Regions from separate parts of the Homo sapiens genome. Here region 1 is linked to region 2. Evidence: promoter capture Hi-C in 16 types of primary human blood cells and fetal thymus (Javierre and others, 2016). All regions are on one chromosome and are shown on one strand. Each heading gives the region's core, a stretch centred on a gene start or on the middle of the fragment in contact. The rest is flanking DNA. Distances are from core to core; before and after follow the strand shown.

Region 1 (5,908 bases), core at 3,229-5,728, 1.5 Mb before region 2:
GATTGTGCCACTGTACTTGAGCCTGGGTGACAGAGTGAGGCTCTTGTCTCAAAAAAAAAAGGTAAAGTACAGAGATGGTAGGACACCTTGCTTACAGCTTTAGAAATAAAAGAAGCCAAATGGGGTGGATGGTCTGGATTAAGAGCAGTAACTGAATATGGCATGGCCTAGTAAAAAGTGTAAACAGGCTGGCTCTCTGAACCTCTGCCTTACTGAGTTTGCATGTAGTCCAGGTAGATTCTACACATGCCATGAGCTACAGATTTTAAAGCATAAAACCCACATATAGAACTAACCAAGAGTGAAACAGAAGCATAATGAGTTAAAGAAAAGAAGTGTGTCTAATAATATATTTTAAAAATTGTTTGATACACACAGGTAGACAGTATTCAGCTTTCCTAGAAGGTATTTCAGAAACTCATTGAAAAGATACTGTTTCTCACTTGCCAATGCATTTCATGATCTGTCCCCTGCCTACTGTAACCCCCTCTCGTGCAGTACCACTGGATAATAGCTATCATTACTACAGGATGAGGCCATGCTCCTGAGAATTGCTTATGAGTGGTCTCTTGATTTGAACTCTGCCTGGCCCTTGATGACCACTCTGCCTACCCAGCCTCAACACTTCACACTCCAGCAGTTCTTTTTTTTTTTTTTTTTTAAGAGACAGGGTCTTGCTCTGTTGCCCAGGCTGAAGTGCAGTGGCACAATCATGGCTCAGTGCGGCCTCAGACTCCTCGTCCTTCTGCCTCAGCGTCCCGAATAGCTAGGACTCAGACACATGACATCATGCCCAGCTATTTTTTTTTAAGTGTTGGGGTCTCACTATGTTGCCCAGGCTGATCTTGAACTCCTGGCCTCAAGCAATCCTCCTGCTGCTTTGGCCTCCCAAGGCAAGGATTACAGGTGTGAGCCACCACACCCAGCCACACTCCGGCAGTTTTGAACCCAGCCTGTTTCATGCTTCCAAGCCTCTGAAACTCATTTTTTCAATACATTATTATTGGTATATTCTAGCATTGAGGACACAGAAGAAACAAGGCAGACAAGGTTCCTCACTCTAGTGGCATTTACATTCTAATGGAGTAAGACAACAATCAATCAAGAAAATAAGTAGATGGTGATGAGTACTCTATAGAAAAAAGGAGTAGGATGATGTAGTAAGGGATGACTGTGAGGCTATTTTAAGTTGAGTGGTTGGGGAAAACCTCCCTGAGGAGATGCATTGAAGTTGATCCCTGAATGACAAGGAGCCAGCCACAGAAAGCTTGAAAGAGCTTTTCATTAGAGGGAAGACCTAGGGCAAAGGTCCTAAGGGAATAATGAGCTTGGTTAGTTCAAAAAACAGAAAGATGACCAATGTGAATGGAAGAGGTTATCAAGGCCTTTTGCAGTCTGTTCCCTGCCTACTGTCACCTCTTCTCATGCAGTACCACTGGGCATATGATAATCCTACAGAGGCGGGTCATAAAAAGCCTTGTAAGCTAAGGTACAGAATTTGGATTTTCTAAGAGCTATAGCAGAGAGTGAGCCATCTGCTGGGTGATGTGAACTGTAAGAGTCGGGTGAGAGGCAAGAGTGGAAAGCATTGCTAGGAAGCTACTACAGCAATCTAGAGGAAAGATGACAGTCTGGACTAGGCTGGTAATAGGAGGGATGGAAGAAAGTGGACTTATTTGAAATATACGTAGACTCTATAGGAATTACTAATGGATTAGATGTGTGGAACAAGGCACAGAGGATTCAAGAATACATTCTAGGTTTTGGCTTGTGCAAGTGGGAAGATAGTGATACCATTTACTGAAGTGGAACAACTAAATGAGAGGTGTATTTGGGGGATAAAGCTAAGTTTTGTTTTGGGTATGTTAAGTTTGAAATACCTGTTTGACATACAAGTAGAAAAAAGCATAGGCCTATATACATAGACAGAAAAAAAACTCTCTCTCTCTCTCTCTCTCTATATATATATATTCATACTTATCTATTAATCAATCTACCTCAGGAGTTCCATGGAAAAGTCAGAACTAGAGACAGAAATCACAAGAATCAGTATTACATACCCAGTATTCAAAGCTCTGACACATACACCCCTACCTTGTCCAACTGTTGAATTCCTGGTCATCCTTTAAAACCTAGTTCAGACATCATCTCCCAAGGTCTTCCCTGATCACCCGGAGTGAATCCCTTTCTCCCTTCTATTACGTGGGTATTTTGTGGGTACTTATATCTTTCCATTTACGACTGCACGGTAATTATTTGCTGACACATAAAGGCAGTGACCTCATTAGATTCATTTTGGTGGTCTTTTTTTTTTTTTAAGAGATGGGGGTCTCACTATGTTGCCCAGGCTGGATTCAAACTCCTGGGCTCAAGTGATCCTCCAGTCTCAGCCTCCTGAGTAGCTGGTACTACAGGCTTGTGCCACCAAGCCCCCTCACATTGGTCTTCTTCAACATTAACATTGTAAACTATGATGTGTCTGATAAAGTAGACTCTCAATAAATGTCAATTAAATTGAACTAAATTCATCAAACTCACAAAGTCAGAAGCAAAAGTTAAACTGACAAAGACAAAATGCTGCTAGGTGAGAATTAAAACTTCCACCATCGCGCGGGGGAACCATAAAAACAATCAAACCCTTTTTCTCCCTACATCTAAACTAATAAGTCTACAGACGCAGAAAAGGAGGACGAAGTTCTCTTATTTACAGAAAAAAAAAAAAGGAGTTGAGTGCAAAGTGCCTACAGTACTTATTCTCTCAATGACTAACATTATGACTATCTGCCCATAAAAAGATCTGCATAAAAAATGCTGCAGTGTGTCTATCACCAAACAATGTATCATTTATACTGCAAAAGTTGTAGAAGGAGGGTAGGCAGCTTATAAATACTCACCAGCAGACAGTGGGCAAAGTCAGGACCTCCCACTAGGCCAGTGAAATTTCCCAGCTGCTCAGCAAGAGCTAATAGTACCTCATCTTCATCATAAATTGTATCTGGAAGTGACAACAACAGGACTCATCAACATGGATAGCTCTCCCACAGCTGGACACTGACACAAAACTAGGAACAGATTCACTATGCGACCAGGAAGGTGACCCAGTCAAAATCCTAACAGCATTTTCTTTCTTCTCAACCGTCTTCCTGTATCTGCTTTGCACAACGAATTAGAAATTCATACTCCCGTATCAATTACTTTCAATAGCTAAATGGTTGATGTTTGAATATATCTAGCCACAACTAACAATATACTCTGTTCTGTTTCTTTTGCACAAAAAACACCTGGCTCATTTTAATGTGGGTAATAAACTCTAAAAAAGTCAGTGTTGAAAGCTACTGGAAAATGGAATGTCCCTACCTTTCTTTAAACAAAGATTCACATACCTGTAAGAAATGGCAACAATTCACTTCGGGTCCTTTCTACTCCAAGTGCTAGGGCAATTGTTGATAACTTCTTAATACTGTTGAGTCGGAGCTTCAGAAAAGAAAGTAGAAAGAAGAACAATGTAAAGAAACGGCTGAATTTAGATCAAAAGACAAAAGGTGCTAACAGGTGAAATTATGACACAGGGGTAAGAATGAAGATAACCTTTCATTTAGATTTTACTGTTAAGGAAGCTCATAAGGACTTCCAAAAAGAAGTGTAACTCGGCCTCACTAGCCGGCGGAGGATTTCCCAGGAGAAACACTCAGAAGGGACCGGAAGAGAAATGAAGGAAAGACAATACAACACCTAGGAAGTAAGATAATTTTAAAAAGAGAGCACTTTGGCAGTGGTGAAGCAGGTGAAACGGTTGAATACAACACCTGTGGTTTCAAAGAAAAGTTCCCACAGAGCGGATACACTACTCGTCCAGATTAATCGGCCATCCCACCCCCGCTTTCTACCCAACAAGCCGAGCCAGTTCCAAGCCGAGATGAAGGGATCCAGGGGCACTTCAAAGGGCTTCTGGGCATCCTGCGCCCCTCAGCCGCTCCAGCCCCGTCTCGGCCTGGCACCGCGCTTCTCCTGCTCCCTCGCCCAAGAGACGCGGCCACCTCACGGCCCGGATGGGGCGCCCAGGCGGGAAGCGGGTTCCCCGACAACCGCCCGGGAAGGGCAAGGCTCCGGGCGGACGCCTCAGGGGGTCCGAAGCAAGGTTACTAGAGAGGTACCCGGGAGGGTCGGGGCGTGTCACCACAGCCCCTCGCGGAGCATTCCCCGCCTCCCCTTCAAGTTTCTGCTACGAGTCCGACTCATTCAGTACCTCGGCCACCCCCACCGCGACGCAGGCCTTCCCCCTTCTCTACCACGCGACCAGCCGGTCTCGCCTCGGGTCCCCGGCCTCAGTCCAGTACCTGCACGTCTTCATTGCGGAGCTCGTCGATTAAAACCGCGATCGGGTATAGCGAATCATCTCCATCTCCACCCGCTGCTCCTGGGCCGGTCCCGAGCTCTGATGCGCCCGCCATGTTCTTTCTCCTCCTGCTGCTGGTCACCGCCTCCCGCCCCGCGCCCAGGCCCCGCCCCGCGCCCAGGCAGTAGGGACGAAGGCCGCCACGCTGGTTTAGCCGAAGTTGGGGAGCCGCGTTTCTGTCCCGATGATTAAGGCTCCCTTCTGACCCCCACTGCAGGAGTTGTAGGTCTGAACTCAAGAAGACGGGTGGGCTAAGAAAGCGAATGGAACCCCTGCGTCCTTTCCCCAGCCGAAAGAAACAGGGACAGGGATTCATCCAGCTCGTTGTAGTCTGAAGGAGCCAGGAACCTACCTGAATGATCTGCGCTGTGCCCTCTTAAGACTCAGGCGGACCAAAGAGAGTGCCCGAGGCCAGGAGGAAAAAGGCTTTAGCACCTCCCCTGACTTCTTCCTGGCCCTGAGCCACTGGATCTCCAGCCCTAATTTCTCCGCTCAGACTCAAACTTCCACAGAACCCCTCCACCTCTTCCCGCGGCTCTTTCTCCAGAATGGTATCTGGCTCCTGCTCCGTAAGACAAATAACGCGGGCGGTGAGAGAAAATGAACAGTGCTGTCCAAACTCCCCAGTCAATATTTTTTCCACGCAAGCTGTTAAAAACATGCTGCTCTCTTGTTTTTGTGTTTCTTTTCAGTTTGGTACTGGAATGGTGCCTTCTGTTGTATTTTCTTCCTCCCATTTTTTAGCTCTTTAGCATGCTAGAAGTACAACAATGAAGCAAAACTAGGACAAGCTTTAATCCTTCCAAATTGGGTGGGGTGGCTACTTTCTTGAGCAAGAAAACCCAAACTGGCCTCCCTAGACCTCCAAGAGTCCTCAGAGGCAGCAAGGGGAAGAGGTGGAGGTCTGGGAGCTCGTTCTTACAAACCTGAATGGAAAGTTTTCACTTACCCCTGTCAGGGTAGCACAGAATAATTAGAATGTTTTGTTTGTTTTAGACTGGAATTTAAGCAGCTTGGAGTGATAACTACATATGGTGATCACAAGCTCCGAAATGGTAATTCTATGTGCCTGATTAATAAAACTATAAATGCAGTGTAGGAGACAAACTTTTTTAAAACATGGGATTCTGAGGCCGAGGCGGGCGGATCACTTGAGGCCAGGAGTTCGAGACCAGCCTGGCCAACTTGGTGAAACCCTGTCTCCACTAAAAAATACAAAAATTAGCTGGGCTGGTGACGGGAGCCTGTAGTCCCAGCTACTCGGGAGGCTGACATGAGAATCGCTTGAGCCCGGGAGGCAGAGGTTGCAGTGAGCCAGGATCGCACCACTGTACTCCAATCTGGGCGGCAGAGTGAGACCCCGTCTCTAAAATAAATAAATAAATAAATAGCGTTCTTGGAAGTAAGCACAATAGAGCCTTTGAATGAATGAATGAAATAATGAATAAATAAATAAATAAATAAATAAATAAATAAATAAATAAATGGGGTTCTTGGAAGTAAGCACAATAG
Region 2 (5,470 bases), core at 772-3,271:
GCTAGGGAGACTGATTTGAGTAATAATAAAACTCCGGTCTCCCTCACAGCCAGCTTTGTGTGAATTACTCTTTCTCTATTGCAATTCCCCTGTCTTGATAAATCGACTCTGTTTAGGCAGTGAGCAAGGTGAACCTATTGGGCGGTTACAGCACTTTAACCATAAACCTTATGAGAAAGTGCCATTTCTCCATTTCACAGGTGAGAAAACTGAGGATTAAAAAGGTTACTCAAATAACTTTCCTAAGGATAAATGTGTGAGTCTTCTAACTCACACATTTATCAATGAACAAAACCGGATTCACAAGTACACTGGAGACTTTACATTTTGGGCAAGGATATTAAGCTAACGGGAGTGAGACAACCCTTCTTCAGTAGAAAAAAGGCGAGCAGCAGGCGCTGCTTTAGTTACCAGCACTTTGCTTCCTCCGTCTCCCCGCGCCAGGCATCGGGCATCCCAACCTCGACTTTGGCCTTCAACTTGGCGCGCTCCGGAGCTAGAGCTCTGCGGTAGCGAATCTGATCGCGTGTCCATGCCCGCCCCCTGTCCCGCCTCCTGGCTTTTGACCCCGTCCTTGGTCCCGCCCCGGGCCCTGGCTCCTGGCCCCGCCCTTGGTCCCGCCCCGGGCCCCTGGCTCCTGGCCCCGCCCCAGCCCAGGCAGGTCACTGCGCCATTTCCTGTCCAAAGCTGGGCGAATCAGGTCGGTGCCGCGGGGTACCCCGGAATCCCCCCTGGGAGCTGGTCCTGCACTGGCCTTCAGAGCCGAGCAGAGGACGCTGCTTTGGGCCCCAGAGCATGGGAAGGTCTTGGCTGCGGTCTGGGACGGCTGCGGTCTGGGACCTGCATGGAGGGCCCGGGACTTGCGGACGCCTGGGAGCGGTTGCTGGGCAACAGTGCGTGCGGCCTGGCCTCTTTGCGCCCGGCGGGCAGCGCGCGTCTGGGGCAGGCTCCGCGCGGGGCTCGGGCACAGGTCCCCGCTGCCGCAGCCCTACCGAGTGAAGCACTGAGCGCGGCGCCGCTTCGCCATCACCTGGCTCTGGCCCTCTCACCCTAGCGTAGGGGGGCACTGGCCAGGCAGTGAGGACCCTGAGATCCATGCCCTGGGAGACAGAGGTTGTCTCCTGTCCATGCACCCGCGCGCCTGCCTTCTAACCTTCATACCGTTGGGCAGATTAATTCACTGGACTAGGCCTCTGTTCCGTGGGAGTTGAAAAGATTTGACCTGGAAGAAACCCTAGCGATTATTCAGTTAAGCCGCAACCCCACCCCCTGTTTTATATAGGTAAGGGTGCTTCACGGTGAGGACTCGTCGCGTGCCTGGTGCTTTACATCAGTCCCCAGAATAGTCCTCGTAGTTTCTCTCTTACTGTTCCCATAGTATGGGTGAGGACTCTGAGGCTCGGAGAGGTTGTGAATTTAGCCAGAATCACACAGCTTGTAACTGGTGGAGATGAGGACACTGAGACTCGATTAAATCACTCGTAGTTTGTTCGTGGCAGATTACGTGTTAGAAGCGTGTTACACTACTATGAAACCTGGCCATAAATGAGAATCACCTGGAAAGTGTTTAAAATCTATATTCGTGTCTGGGCAATGTCCCGGGTTTACTGACTTGAAATCTCGGGCTACGGCTGAGGAAGCTGTATATTTAACAATCTTCCCGATGATTTTTATGATCTGTGGATGAACCACTGAGTACTGCTGGGTACACCACGGGGCCTTCTCGCACAAAAACAACTGTAAAATAATATCTGAGGTACCTAGAGCAGAAGAGACGCTGGTGAGCATGGTAACATTATGTTCTAATCCCTTCAGTCAATTTGTACCCTTTCTTCACTCTTCAGAAACAAGCCAAAGGCAGATTTTAAACAAGTATGGACATTTAGATGCAAATTGCCCCAAGTTTGTTACCTGTCACACATCCACATTTAAGCTTCTGACTAGACCAGCCTGTCATGATCAAAGTCAGGTGTTAGTGTATTTCTCTATCCTTGGCAACCTGTCATCTGCTCTCTTCTCATCTCCATGCCAGGTCCCTAAATCGCCGGGGTTGATGTTGGCTTTGGAAGAACTATTTGCAGAGCGTTTTCTGCACTGGAAGGAGGGCTGGAAGCTTTCTGGAAGCATTGCCGCACGTAAATGAGTGCCTCTTGGCCTAAAACAGCAGTTGGAATGAAAGGGATCACCCTGCTGTTATTCATTGACATAAACAAAACTGTCATAAAAATAATCACTTGGCTCTTAGTTTTAGAAGGCTAATAAGCCTGACCGTTCTGTTTAGTGCTTTATTATTATTAATTTCACCATTATGCTGCATCCCTTAGGGATTCCGGTTCACAATGGATGCTGATAAAGAGAAAGATTTGCAGAAATTTCTTAAAAATGTGGATGAAATCTGTAAGTACTAGTAAATCATAAATTAATTTCTGCTTTAGAGAAGTGGAGTAGATAAATGATTGCTCTAAGTTCCTGGGTGGCTTGACAGGTTTATAACTCTTAGGAAAAAAATGTAATTGAAATTAAAGAGAAGGGTATTGAGAAACAAGTTATAGCCTCAGGGCTGTATTTTCTGGCTGTTAATTGGTATCAGAGAAACTGTTAACATTCTGATAGGAATTCAGGCTGACGGTTTTCTTCCATATTTTGTATCCTTCTATGTGGAATCCAGTCAAAACCAGCTGCTGTTTCCCCATTGACAATGAACCCAGCTGTTCCCTTCAAGGGTCAAGAACCTCATTGATCAGTGTGAGATTCCTCCCGTTTTAGAGTAGAGCCATTTCTGTTTTAGAGCTGCAGAGGCAAAATCAAATGGCTTTCCTTTAGGATCCATCAAATTACATGGATGGTTTATGATCATCATTCCCTTCTCTCTCTCTAGACAAGAAAGTCCTTTCCCAAGTTCAGGCAGGTTGGATCTCAAAGAAATGTACTCTGATCCCACAGATCACATTCAGGAATTTCCAAACCTGTCAGTCCCTGTTCAGGGAGCTTGCTTGAGTATAGAAACAAACAAACCAACAAGCAAACAGACCTTACATAGTAAATACAGGCAATATGCTGAAATTGCTGCTTGTAGCAGATTGTATGGGTTCAAGGAATAAAGTGGTTTTAAAGCTAGCTTGGGTGACATCGTAAATGATACATGAATAATGCTTATCCCTGAATGCTGTTCCATGGAGCTCTGGCCTTGGCCCACTGCCACCTTTCTCTTCAGCTGGTCTAAACATGTAGCTTTACCTGCCACCTGTTTGTTCATGACCCCCACATCTACATGGACACTTAGCCTTCTTTTCTGAGCCTCTGCCTCTATGGTACTGTCATACCTACTGTATCCCACAAATAAACTTAAATGTGTCCAAAATTGAGGCATCATCTCTTTCCCTCCCCTTTGCCCTCCCCCTCCCAAATAAAACCTGCTTCTCCTACCCTCACCTTCATCCTGGTCTCAGTTGGTGACACCACCATCCAGAAATTTACAGGTCATCTGGGACTCCTCCCAACTCATAACCCTGCATCCAATTAGCCATCTAGTTTGGTTGGAGAGCCATCCTCTCCAGCCCTCCCTTTGTTCTGGTTCTTCTCACCCAGACTATGTCAACAACCCCCTGATTGTTTTTCCTGTCTCCAGGCTTATACTTCCCACAGAGTAATGTATCTAAAATGCAAATCTGACCCAGACACTTCTCTGCTTGGATTCCTTTTGCAGTCATAATAAATCCCAAGCTCTCATCAGGACTTAAGTCCTCCCATGACCTTGTCCTTACCTCTCTCATATCTCCCTACCTCACGCTTGAGCAGCAATAAACTGCTGATACTTCGCCACACATACTCTGTGTTTCACACTCTGCACTGGATCTTTGCCATTCCCACTGCCTCTTCATCTTTTTTTTTAACCTGGCTAACTTATGCATACTCAAAGTTCATTCAGGTATCATGTATACCAGTGCTGTCCAATAGAGCTTTCTGTGATGATGAAAATGTTCCATAATCCTCACTGTCCACTATGGTAGCAACTAGCCACATGATTATTGAGCATTTGAAATATGGCTTATAACTCCACCCTGTGGTCTAGTGCTTAGGGTTCTGTGTGTTTGTGGCTGCAGCCCAGGTTTGAAATGCGGCTTGTTTCAATTAATTTAAATTTATGTAGCCACATGTGTATAGATTCTGTACATTTACTTCTTGGGCTCTTGCTATGTGTTGAGTGTTGGTAAGGCCTAGAGAATACAGTCAAAGAATTATTCTTTTCATGGTATTAATAGTCCAGTGGAGAAAACAGATATTAAACAGTAATTTCAAGTATGCAATATGAGACACAGAGAATTACAAAGTGTAGGGATCTAACCCAGCTTTGGGAGGTTGTATTAGTCGGCTAGGGCTGCTGTAACAAAATAGACTGGCTGGCTTAAATGACAAAACTTTATTTTCTTAGAGTTCTGGAGTTTAGAAATCTAAGACCAGGGTGTGAGCAGGTTTGGTTTCTTCTGAGGCCTCTCTCCTTGGCTTGCAGATGGGCACCTTCCCGCTGTGCCCTCACATGGTCATCTCTCTGTACGTGCATATATTTGGTGTTTCTCTTCTTACAAGGACACTAGTCATATTGGATTAGGGCAATGATTAGTTACTTCTTTAAAGGCCCTATCTACAAATACAGTCATACCAGGAGTTATAGCTTCAACATGTGAATTTTTGGGGGGGATGCAATTTAGTCCATAACAGAAATTAAATAAAGTTTTCCAGAAGAAGTGAGATTTAGGCAAAATGTGAAGAGTGAGTCGGAGTTGGTCACTGGGAAAATGACAGGGGAGTGTCCTGGGTGGGAAGTAAGGAGGTAGGAAAGCTAAGAGTGAAGAAAGAGTGTGGTGCTTTTGAGGAACTAAAAGAATAAAAAGCCCCAAATGTCTGGAAAGAAGAGATCAAGGAGAGAAGAGTCCCATCTGAATATGGAGGGGCCAGATTAGGAAAGACCTTGGAAACCATGGTAAGGAATTTGTGTTTACCGAGAGCAGTAAATCAATTCCATCTAATTTATGTAATGACTCTTCCCCCAAGGAGGTGGAGCATCTCTACCCCTTAAATGTGAGATACATTTAGTGACTTGCTTCCAAAGAGTACAGTATGGAAAGGGAGGGAAGAAAGTAACTTTACAGTGGAAAAGGTTGGCAAACACAATTTCAGATAGATGATCAAGGTTAACCTCCTGATAAATCACACTGATGGCATGCATCCCTGATACGCCATAATGTGCCATGGTCTTTTTCCCCAAATCCTGTAACTCCAGTCTAACCGTGAGAAAAATACCAGATAAACCCAAATTGCAAGGTATTCTATGCAAACTCATAGAATGTCAAGGTCATCAAAACTGTCAAGGTCATCAAAATAAGGAAAGGGTGAGAAATTGTCGCAGCCTAGAGAAGCCTAAGGAGACATGACTAAATGTCGTGTAGTGTTCTGGATGGGATCCTGGAAT

What was found. Contacts are between HindIII fragments. The CHiCAGO score rates a contact against its expected background, and 5 or more counts as called.
Region 1: the fragment with the promoter of PPP2R1B here is called in contact with a fragment that was not itself captured in region 2 in 1 of 17 cell types (non-activated CD4 T cells); the score reaches 6.7 in non-activated CD4 T cells.

What each region holds. Positions count from the first base shown.
Region 1 is chr11:111,761,911-111,767,818 of GRCh38, forward strand. It overlaps PPP2R1B (protein phosphatase 2 scaffold subunit Abeta), which reads right to left and starts at 4,479. Exons shown (of 15, transcript NM_002716.5): 1 at 4,338-4,479; 2 at 3,384-3,474; 3 at 2,895-2,995. The coding sequence starts at 4,451. RefSeq lists enhancers at 3,505-4,408, 4,295-4,474, 4,495-4,544. The HindIII fragment of the contact is 3,920 bases long and covers 1,266-5,185 here.
Region 2 is chr11:113,313,919-113,319,388 of GRCh38, forward strand. TTC12 (tetratricopeptide repeat domain 12) reads left to right here and starts at 665. Exons shown (of 22, transcript NM_017868.4): 1 at 665-700; 2 at 2,325-2,397. The coding sequence starts at 2,340. TTC12-DT (TTC12 divergent transcript) reads right to left here and starts at 538. Exons shown (of 5, transcript NR_199709.1): 1 at 412-538. RefSeq lists silencers at 476-725, 749-1,043, 936-1,035. The HindIII fragment of the contact is 180 bases long and covers 1,932-2,111 here.